Linked DNA regions of Homo sapiens: region 1 is linked to region 2. The links are contacts of gene promoters, found by promoter capture Hi-C in human tissues and cell types (Jung and others, 2019). All regions are on one chromosome and are shown on one strand. Each heading gives the region's core, a stretch centred on a gene start or on the middle of the fragment in contact. The rest is flanking DNA. Distances are from core to core; before and after follow the strand shown. Region 1 overlaps RRAS2 (RAS related 2). Region 2 holds the start of PSMA1 (proteasome 20S subunit alpha 1).

Region 1 (5,599 bases), core at 343-2,842, 210 kb after region 2:
GTATAGCTGGGACTAGAATCTAGCTTTTATTACTAAAGAGTTTATGTTTAATCTGTCTAGGTCTTTCGAAACTCTTGGGTTCCTTCTTTCATTCATGTATTTCAAATTTGAAAGCTACAAGAATTGTTTTCCTTCCATCCATATCTCCTAGCAACCCAGTTAAACCCACAGGTAAAGTTAATCAGTTTCTTGTGTATCTTTCCAGAGATATTTTGTGCACATAAAGCAAATACATAAACTGTGGGTATTTAACAACATATCTTGCAGATTGCTGTATATTAATGCATGAAGTCATTCCTTTTTTTAATGGTTATATTCATATTGAATGAACCTTTCGTAATTTAACCAGGCATTTGCTGAATGACATTGTCCTTGCTGAAGCACATTGTGTTTCCAGTCTTTTAAAGACATTTCACTATGAACAACCTTGTACATATCATTTCTTATATGTGCAGACCTATCGGCAGGATAAGTTTCTGGAATTGAAATTGCTGGGTCAAACAGTATCTTTGTGTATTTAAAAAAAAATGACCTACTTACACCTTTACTCGTAACTTACAAATGGGGCGTTTCCATTTTTAATGAAACGACTTTACTTTTCTATTTGGCAGTAGCAGTTTATAATTTAAAAAAATAATGAATCACTTATTTTAAGGGGTACCAGGATTTTTTTTTTTAAACTGTCGCAGGCTATGTGCTATGTTAGTATGGCAGGTTAAAGAAAGTATAATGGAAGGAGTATTGCATTGGAGTTAGACCTGATTGGAATCCCAGTTCCACTTTGTGACCTTTGGCAGGTTATTTAACTGCTGAGCCTCAATGGTCTCATCTGTAAAATGGTGGGCGCTGTTATCCCAGCTTCTCGGGAGGCTGAGGCAGGAGAATCACTTGAACCAGGGAGAGACGGAGGTTGCATTGAGCCGAGATTGCACCACTGCTCTCCAGCCTGGGCGACAAAATGAGATATTCTGTCTCAAAAACTAGCCTTACCAATACGGTTGTCTTGAACTATTGTATTTCATCACATTTCCCCCCGTACATTTTAGTATATCTGAAATTGAGATGCTTCATAGTCAAAGGCATGTCATGAGTGTATTGGTAGCAGTTTTTTTTTCCCTCTTCCTTTTTCTGCTTTTTTTTTGTTGTTGTTGTTTTTTGTTTTTTTTTGTTTTTTTTGGTTTGGGGGAGGGGGCAGGGTCTCCTCTGTTACCCAGGCTGGAGTGCAGTGGCACAATCACTGCTCACTGCAGCCTTGACTTCCCGAGCTCCCATGATCCTCCCACTTCAACTTCCCACATAGCTAGGACCACAGGCATGTGCCATCATGCCCTGCTAATTTTTGTATTTTGGGTAGACACTGGGTTTCACCATGTTTCCCAGGCTGGTCTTGAACTCCTGACCTCAAGTGATCCACCCACCTTGGCCTTCCAAAGTACTAGGATTATAAGCGTGAGCCACTGCGCCCGGCCTTTTTTTTTTTTTTTTTATCTTGGCACATAAAATAATGATGGTCTTACAATCAGTGTCATCTTAGATTTGATGAAAAAGGGTAAATTCACATACTGGGACAAGTGAACTATGCTAGGGCATGGTATAGGCTGAAGCTCAGTGTGATAGGAAAAGCTCAGGGTAGGGAATGGGGTGTTAGAGGGATAGTTACAGTGAGGGAAGTTTCATTCTAGATCAGCAGTCAGCCCAGTAGAACAGCCACCTAGTGGGAGGCTAGTACAACTGATTGATGGCTCAGGAGCAGGTATTGCCCAAAATCCTGGGTATGTGGAATTGGAATTGTGGAGAGTTGTTGGTGGGTAATAAGACTTCGCCCCACAGTTGAGATTTAGGAACTATGTACTCACTTATGGCAGGAAGGCTTTATAAGAAGGGGGCTATGAGAGAAAATATTTGCAAATCATCTGGGCACAGTGATGCATGCCTGTAGTCCCAGCTACTCAGGAGGCTGAGATGGCAGGATCCCTTAAGCCTAGAGTTCGACACCAGCCTGGACAACATAGTGGGATCACATCTCTATAAATGAAGGAATGAATGAAAACCATTGAAAAAATATTTGTAAATCATATTTCTGATAAGGGATTTATATCCAGAATATAGTACTCTTACATTCAATGATAAGATAAAATTTAATAAGGGGCAACGATTTGAGTAGCCATTTCTGCAAAGAAGATATACAAATGGCCAATAAGCACACAAAAAGGTACTCAACATCCCACTAGGGAAATGCACATTAAAACTGCAGTGAGAGACTATTTTACATCCGTAGGGTGTCTGTTGTAAAAAAAAAAATTCTTTTTTTGTTGGGGTGGGGGCGGCGGTGGGGGATAGGATCTCAGTCTGTAGCCCAGGTTGGAATGCAGTGGTGCGGTCGCAGCTCACTGCAGCCTCTAACTCCTGGGCTCAAGTGATCCTCCTACCTCAGCCTCTCACATAGCTGGGACTACAGTTACGCACCACCACATCTGACTAATTTTTAAATATTTTGTAGAGATGGGGGTCTCACTGTGTTGCCCAGCTGGTCTCGAATTCCTGGGCTCAAGTGATCCTCTTGCCTTAGCCTTCCAAAGTATTGGGATTACAGGTGTGAGCCATCGCGCACGGCCAAGACTGAGTTTAATAACAGGTCTAGGTGAGGATATTGAAAAATTGGAACCCCCAAACACTGCTAGTGGGAATGTGTCTGTGGGTTTTAATTTGGGAATTCAAGGAATATCTCTTGAGGGTTTTAATTTGAGGACAGTGGGAAGAGAGATACAGTGTTTTTGTACTTAGAATGTTTTCAGAAGAAGGCTAAACCCAGGGAAAGCTATTGGAGTGGGGAGTTAGGTCAGGCTGAGAAGGCTGGGGTATACAAGTGGTACCCCAAAGACAAGCTTTCCCTCTATACAAGTTTTGTTTAGGCCTGGCTCTGTCCTCTGGAAAAGGAAAAGAAATTCTCTTCCCATTTCTTCTTAGGAAAAATTACCGTGCTTTGGAGGTTGGAACTTGGGGCTGATACTGGCAGGGCCATATCCAGTAGTAGCTTTTGTGGTTTGGCCTCCGAATATACCTGCAATTTAGGAAAAAACTCCAAATAACTTATAAACAGACTTTTGTCATAGAACCAGTTTGTAAGCTGACTTTGTACTGTACTTTCTGCTGGCACATACCAGGCCCATTCATTTGCAACTAAATACTATATGTGAGGTAATACATATATATTAGCTGAAAATGTATGGAAGGCAAATGAAGGCACATGGTTGCTTTAGGCAGTCTGAGACAACTGGCAACACTGAAGACCTCACTAAATTTTGTTAAAAAGGAACTAAAAGGATTACTGGATTTAGTGTAGCTTTTATTATTCTGCATTAGAGTTCTGGGGATTAAATTATAGACATATATAATTGTACATGTTAGATTAAATGAAATACTAATTTCAGTCAAAAGCTATACTTCAGTGAAGGAATATCAAGCATATTGGAAACATTTGACAAAAAAAATAAGGGAGGATGTTGCAGGGAACAAAGGTTCTCTGTGACATGACAGCTGCTGCTAAAAAGTGACACAAGGAGGAGCCCAGCTCTGGCTCACAGCTGCCTGAAGTTGCTGCAGTCTTCTCTAGTGTTACCAGAGGAATTTGCTCTGCTCTTGTTTTAGAAAATGGAGGCTACCAATGGCTAACTAGGTCCTTATTGTGCTTGGGGAAATTAATTCTTCTTTCCCCACTGCAGTCCTCCCCTACTTTGAGATCTGTGTGCAAGTATATTACTTAGCTTCAGGAAAGTTTTAAAAACCTTGAGCATGTAAATCGAGTTTTATATGTCCTGGGACATACATATAACACAATTTTAACTGGAACTCTAATTCATTTTAGCTTCTTTTGAAACCCAAAAGACAGAATAAAACAGTAGGTGCCAAGTTATCCTCATATTCCAAGAACTTGCATAGTGGGTAGCCTTAAACTGGTTTTGCACATGTAGCCCATACCTACCTCTAGGGAATAAAAGTGTTGAGATTATTAAGGGTTCTAAGACAATGTTTTTGGAAAGAGCTATTAGTATGTTGTATGTTTGGTGTCCTTTCCTGCTTCCACACGTAGTGGAGGAGAGGAGAAAGATGCTTCTCCTTAAGCCCCTTTCATTTAAGCCAAATGATGAGGGAGGCTCCAATGGAGTCATTCTGAGAATTTGACATGTATCCCCTCGAGTTTGGGGAATGAAAGGTTTAGTATACAAATCTATGGATCAGTAGCCCTGAGGCAGCAGAGCACAGAGAGGGCTGTATGTTAGCACTTTGTACTTAGAAAGACGTTAGTGTTTCCTCAGGCTGCTGGGTGAAACCAGCTTAAAGCCATCTAGAAAGGGACACTGTGCTCGGCCACCTAGAAGGTGACATGAACCAGGAGGAAGGTACCCATGGAAACCCCAGAGGTGGAGGGTTGGAGTTGTAAATGGCCAGGTCTCACTTAAGTTCTGGGAATTGAGTATGGAGGGCCCTCATGAAAAAGTTGGTATGAACATCACACTTAATTGGTGTGGCCTTTTGACACCCCCATAGCTTTTCCCACTGCTTCAGTTCCCACTCTGAAGGAGCCAGAGACAGCCTTGTTGTGGGTAGAAGAGATGCAGAGCAGGGAGAGAGAGATGATGACAGGACCCCTCACATCCCCCAGCCCAACTAGACTTCTCAGCTCCACCAAGGAAGGGGAGAAGCTTTAATTTAGATGAGTATTGATTACTGCAGTTAAGACAGTTATTGAAACTATGGTGTTCTTGGGGCTGAAGGATATTTAAACTTTTTTCCCCCCTTTTTGTGGAGATGGGGGTCTCTCTCTGTCGCTGAGGCCGGTCTCAAACTCCTGGGCTCAAGCAGTCCTCCTGCCTCTGCCTCCCAAAGGGCTGGGATTACAGGCATGAACTGTTGTGTTTGGCCTAAATATATTTATAGTCAAAGAATGATTTTAAAAAATTATGAGACTTGCCTTAGATTTCATTCAGGAACAAGGAAAAACTTTCCCACAGAGGGGCTTGGAGGGAAAGTTTTATGCTTATACCCATTGAGTTTAACTCAGTATATCAGTTATTCATACATTCACTTAGACACATACATGAAAGGATAAGCAATTGTAAAAGGAAATTGTAAGTAGCAATTATATAGTATACATTAAGCTTGGTATATGTATTTTCCAAATCACAACTTATTACTAATAAGACAGAAGTTGAGAAAAATCCAAACTGTTGTCACTTTAAGGGTAAGAGAATATTGAGATTGTTTTCTGGTTGGAGTGTTGAAAGCATTGCAAAGAAAGCAAGATGTGATTTGGGCTTTATCAGCTATAATTTATTAAGGGCCTACTGTGTGTCATCTGTTGGGCTTTGTACTCTACATAGACATAGAGTATTTTTAACTTTTCACAACAATCCTGCAAAGTTGGTGTGATTTTCATTTCATAGACAAGGAAACTGAGGTTCAAACAGGTTAAGTGAGCTACTCTAGTTTCCCACAGCTGGCAAACTGATAGAACTGTGTCCGGGTCTATTTGACTTACATCTCAGACTCCCTCAATTCTGCTGCCTCCCTAGGCAGCCCCACACACCAGAGATACAGT
Region 2 (5,906 bases), core at 3,110-5,609:
AGCGGACTGGTCTCCCAAAGGAGTCCGCTGACCCGGGTCTTCGGCACCAAATGTCTTACGTGTCCGTGTGAAGAGACTACCAAACAGGCTTTGTGTGAGCAACATGGCTGTTTATTTCACCTGGGTGCAGACGGGCTGAGTCCAAAAAGAGAGTCAGCAACGGGTGGTGGATTATCATTATTAGTTCTTAGAGGTTTTGGGATAGGCAGTGGAGTTAAGAGCAATGTTTTGGGGGCAGGGGGTGGATCTCACAAAGTACATTCTCAAGGGTGGGGAGAATTACAAAGAACCTTCTTAAGGGTGGGGGAGATTACAAAGTACATTGATCAGTTAGGTTGGGGCAGAAATAAATCAATGGTGGAACTTCGTCAGTTAAGGCTATTTTCACTTCTTTTGTGAATCTTCAGTTGCTTCAGGCCATCTGGATGTATACGTGCAGGTCACTGGGGATATGATGGCTTAGCTTGAGCTCAGAGGCCTGACACTGGGCTCATGTGATCCTGTCACCTCAGCCTCTCGAGTAGCTGGGACTACAGGTGCATACAACTACACCTGGCTAATTTTCTTTCCTTCCTTTCTTCCTCCCTCTCTCTCTCCCTCCCTTCATTTTTTTTTTTTTTTTTTTTTTTTTTTTTGAGACAGGGTCTTGCTATGTTGCTCAGGCTGGTAACTCCTGGCCCTAAGCAATTCTCCTGCATTAGCAGGAGAAAAAAAAGTGTCGGGATTACAGGTGTGAGCCACTTTGCCTGGCTTCCAATGACCTTTAAAGAAGTAGTACTATGTTCGCTGACCTAGTCTTCCTACAAAATATCTTTATTGATCAGTTTTTCAGCTTCTGATTAATGCTCAAGATGTATCTTGAGGCCGGGCATGGTAGCTCATGCCTATAATCCCAGCACTTTGGGAGGCCCAGGCAGGAGGATAGCTTGAGTCCAGGAGTTTGAGACCAACCTGGGCAACAAAGTAAGACCTTGTCTCTACAAAAAAAATAAAATTATCTGGGCATGGGGGTACTTGCCTGTAGTCCCAGCTACTTGGGAGGCTGAGGTAGGAGGATCACTTGGGCCCAGGAGGTCCAGGCTGAAGTGATTGTGCCATTGCACTCCAGCCTGGGCAACAGAGAAATACCCTGTCTTAAAAAAAAAAAAAAAAAATGTATCCTGAGAGCTGAGGAGCTGAGTATGGTGGCTCACTCCTGTAATTTCAGCACTTTGGGAGGCCAAGGAGGGAGGATCACTTTAAGGCCAGGCATTCATGACCAGCCTGGGCAACATAGTAGGACCCTGTCTCTACAAAAAATTTTAAAATTAGCCAGGTATGGTGGTGTGCACCTGTAGCCCTAGCTACTTGGGAGGCTGAGGCAATAGGATGGCTTGAGCCCAGGAGTTCAAGGTTACAGTGAGCTATGATCATGCCACTGTACTCTAGCCTGGGCTACACAGCTAGACTCTGTCTCTAAAAAAAAAGTTGTTGTTGTTGTTGTTTTTAACGATGTATCTTGAGCCAAATCCCCAAAACACACAAAGAGGAGCTGAAAATCATATAAACCTTTAATAAGCCCTTGGGACTTTCATTCTTAACAAAAAGGTCAACCAAATGCCCCTTCTTTTGGTCTACAAGTAGAGCTTTGATAACAGCCATTCTGAAGAGTACAGACAATTGCTGTGAATAAAGGATGTATCGCAAAGCCCCAGATATTTGCTTAGGAAATAATTATCAGAAGGACAGGTTTGGAGTGATAGATCTATCACTCATTCATTCAACAAATGTTTAGTGAGTGCCTACTATATGCCAGGCTTTGTTTCAGGTACTAGGAATATCTCAGTAAATTTTTAAAAAGTCAAAAAATTATGTTTGGATATTTATGTGATTCCCTGTTGCATATTTACAATGTGTGCTTCAACTTTTATTTAAACTAGATTCAGTGGGTTTCTTTTATTTGTATCCAAAAGGCCCTTTCTATAAAAGTGACACAGTAATAAGAGGTTACCATCCCTAATTACAGGAAGCTCCTACAAGTCAGTAAGAAAATGATTAACACAATAATATGAGGAAAGGAATGAAGTGGCAATCCACTAAAGTAACATAAACAGCCAAGAAATACAACAAAAGATTTTTTTACTAGTAATAAAAAACTATAAATAAAATTAAAAATTAAAGAAACAGGTTTTCTTTTTTGGCCTATCAAATTGATAAAAGTAAAAAGTACTTATAATATCCAGTGTTGGTAAGAATACAGAGAAAACTGACTCTCAGGCAGCGTAGAATATTAAATGGATATAACTTTTTTTGCAACTCAGCCATATTTATCATAACTGTAAATGTAAGTTCCCTTTGACCCCACAATTCTACTTCTATGAATTCTTCATCAGGTAAGGTAATTATGCACACAATAGGTGTGTATGTACAAGAATATTCATTATAGTATTTTTATGATACCAATAACTTGGAAACAATTGAATTGCACACTAATAATTAAGCAAATTATTATATTTCCATACAATAAAATACTATGCGACTATTGAAAATAATATAGACCATTACTTATGGACATATGATAGCTATAACTTTTTAAGTGTATTAATAAAAACAGTATCATCTTATTTTTAAAAATTGTATATTTATTACACATCTGTGTGAGGCATGTGACTAGAGAGATATATATGGAAAGAATTTTCAAAATGTTTATGTAGTATATGACAATTTTTAAATGAGCATTTATTTAATCAGTTAGCACTATTTATAAACACTTAATATGTGCTACGCATTGTGCTAGGTCCTGGAGAAACGAAAGAGAACAATCTATTAATTTAATCTGTTAATTTAGTCCACCAAATCAACAGTGTTTTTCAGAAATACGACAATAACCAGTGTTGATGAATTAGAGAAGGTAACCTCATATACTACTGTTGAGAGTATATGTTGGTAAAACATTTCTGGAGAACAATTTAGTACTTTGTTTTTTGTTTTTTTTTTTTTGAGATGGAGTCGCACTCTGTCGCCCAGGCTGGAGTGCAGTGGCACGATCTCAGCTCACTGCAACCTCCGCCTCCCGGGTTCAAGCGATTCTCCTGCCTCAGCCTCCTGAGGCACGCCACCACGCCCGGCTAATTTTTGTATTTTTAGTAGAGACGGGGTTTTACCATGTTGGCCAGGATGGTCCGATCTCCTGACCTCGTGATCCACCCGCCTCTGCCTTCCAAAGTGTTGGGATTACAAGCGTGAGCCACCGCGCCCGGCTTTTTTTTTTTTTGAAACAGAATCTCTATTGCCCAGGCGGGCTGGAGTGCAACGGCGCGACCATGGCTCACTGCAACCTCGATCTCCCTGGCTCAAGAGATCCTCCCACATCAGCTTCCCGAGTGGCTGGGACCACAGGCCCATGCCAACATGCCCAGCCTTTTTTTTTTATTATTCTTATTCTTATTCTTATTCTTATTATTATTGTAGCGACGAGGTCCCACTGTATTAAAATAATATAGTGATCTCAAACTCCTGGGTTCAAGCGATCCTCCGCCCTCGGCCTCCAATAGCGCTGGGATTACAGGCGTGAGCCACCACACCCAGTCTCTTTTTTACAAAGAATATAAATAGCCGGTGGATGTCAGACTATTTCGTTATGGAAAGATGCTCTCAAAAGACGAAATAGATAAATCGAAAGAAAGTGTCCATTTTTTCTCAGTGGCCTAATCTGTCAGGTACCATGCTTGGTTTTGGGGGCATAGAAAGACATTAGCGCCCTCATGGAGTTCAAAGTCTGGTGGAAGAAATCAATCATAATAACAATGAGGGGTTAACGACAACAGACCCTTGAAAGATAACATCTCCAGGGAATAAGGAAGAGCATTCCAAAGTATTTTGCCAAATGGCAAAAACCGCAGTTACTTTTGCACCAACCTTAATGCAAATAAAAGCATGTACACAAACAAGATACTCGAGGAAGAATACAGCTGACACACAGAAACGGATCGTTATCTTGTGGCTTTCCTGCAGCCTCGTTCCTTTCAGTCACATAACACCCCAAATCTGTGGACGGTTAATGAGAGCTAGTATCACCCAGAGTCACGGCTGTTGACTCGGACGACTTTAGATGCAGCCCGCCAGCGGGAGAAACTGGAGGGAATCCGCCATACACAGGAACCTAGAAGGGCTACGTGACAGGGGCTGCCCCGCAGCTCTCAGCCGCCGGCACTCCCAGCCAGGTTTTCCCGCCAGTCTCAGTTCCTAGATCTTCCGAGGCTCCGCCCGCCGCCGAGCGGTCGGAAAGTTTTAAGGAGGGGGAAGTGTTGCAAGCCTATCGATATCTCTGGAATAGACTGCGCTACCCTGCGCCGCCGCCGTCAAACTCCCGCAGACTTCTCTGTAGATCGCTGAGCGATACTTTCGGCAGCACCTCCTTGATTCTCAGTTTTGCTGGAGGCCGCAACCAGGCCCGCGCCGCCACCATGGTACGTTGAATCCCGATCTCTGGAAGGTTTAGGGCAGAGCTCTGGTGACTGGGGGATGACGAGCCACCTCTCCTGTCATCCTTAGCGTCGCCCGGTGCCACGAGGTATGAGAGCCTCGGCAGACGGCCGGGCTCCGGCAGTGATTCAGCATCTCCGGCCTGGCCGGGCTAGGGGTTATCGGTAGCCAGTGCGGCCTTTCCACCGCTTTCGCTTCCCGGGGAGCCTCCGACACTTCCTCCTCGGTCAGCTAGATGAGTTCGCCCCTCAGGTTCCTTCAGTGGAGTAGATTCTGAGCGGTCCAGAATAGCTCCTAGTGCTGTGTATGGGAGAGGAGAAGACAGAGACTTGACTTGGAGGCCTACCTGTACCACCAGTGCGGACTTGACCCCCAGGTTTGTGTTCCTGGACAGCGTCCGTTTTCCTGGTGGGTCCGTCTATTTATCTCTCGCCTAGACTTCGATTAGAAGAGGCCCTTTTCAATCATTTTGTCCAGTCACCTAGTTGCGGATGAGTAAGCCGAGGCTGAGAGGGGAAGTGATGGAATCAGGGTTACAATATAGGGTTCTGGGTTTCCAGTTCTGTCTGCCATTCTAGCACTCAATCTCACTCCCATGACTATTATTATAATAGTCGTAATAGCCGTAATGGTTCTATCGCTGCAGCTATTTGTGTCCACCTCTAACTTTGTGAGGACATTTTTGTTCATTCAATGTGAATATACAGACAGCACTTGTACAGGCATAACTACAGTGAACATTAAAAAATAAGTCATACATGTCCCTAATCATAAAAACAGAAAGGGACGTTTAGATAAAGAGCTGTGGGAGTATATGTTAGGGGGATTTGGGAAGAAAAGGAGAAGACTTCAAGAAATCGACATTTAAGCTACCTTAAAGAAAAGGAAGACTTTTAACCATTTATTAGGGCCCAATAAAAGGGAGCAGCATAAGCAAAAATAGGCAAGAAAGTTGATTGTGAACTTTAGTAATTGAGCCTAAAGGGGTTGATATGGAGGGTGTTAGAATAAGAGTTTGGAAAAATAGGACCCATTTAGATCTGCTTCTCCCTCTCCCACGAGTTTATGGTAAATGTAGAATTGGCTTACATCTGAGTACAGTAGTAATCTTCCAGTAAGACTGCATGAACAGAGTGCCTTAACATTGAATGGAAATACAAGCATATTTCTTAATGAATGTTAAGAGTTGGGATTTGAAATGTTCTTCTATTAACAGGTATTTTTTTCTTTTACTTTTAGTTTCGAAATCAGTATGACAATGATGTCACTGTTTGGAGCCCCCAGGTAAAATAATGTTTTTAAACCTTTTCTGTGAAGTGGCTTTTTGTGGCTGCAATATATTTAGAAACTTGTGAGAGCGTAGGCTTGGGGAAAATGGAATATAATTATTTTAGACGTTCTTGGAAGTTGCATTTATAATTAAAATAGGTTTCCTGATGGAC

The links. The method cuts DNA at HindIII sites, captures the fragments that hold promoters and counts their contacts. A contact is called where the count stands out against the background at its distance.
Region 1: a contact is called between a fragment that was not itself captured here and the fragment with the promoter of PSMA1 in region 2, in 1 of the 25 tissues and cell types used here (ovary).

The regions. Positions count from the first base shown.
Region 1 is chr11:14,302,779-14,308,377 of GRCh38, reverse strand. The region is part of intron 1 of RRAS2 (RAS related 2); the gene reads left to right. Among named protein-coding and RNA genes, the nearest start is that of RRAS2, 54 kb to the left of the region's middle. The HindIII fragment of the contact is 7,740 bases long and covers 1-5,462 here.
Region 2 is chr11:14,518,839-14,524,744 of GRCh38, reverse strand. PSMA1 (proteasome 20S subunit alpha 1) reads left to right here and starts at 4,359. Exons shown (of 10, transcript NM_002786.4): 1 at 4,359-4,448; 2 at 5,704-5,748. The coding sequence starts at 4,446. RefSeq lists enhancers at 4,228-4,417, 3,952-4,566. The HindIII fragment of the contact is 15,381 bases long and covers 1-5,906 here.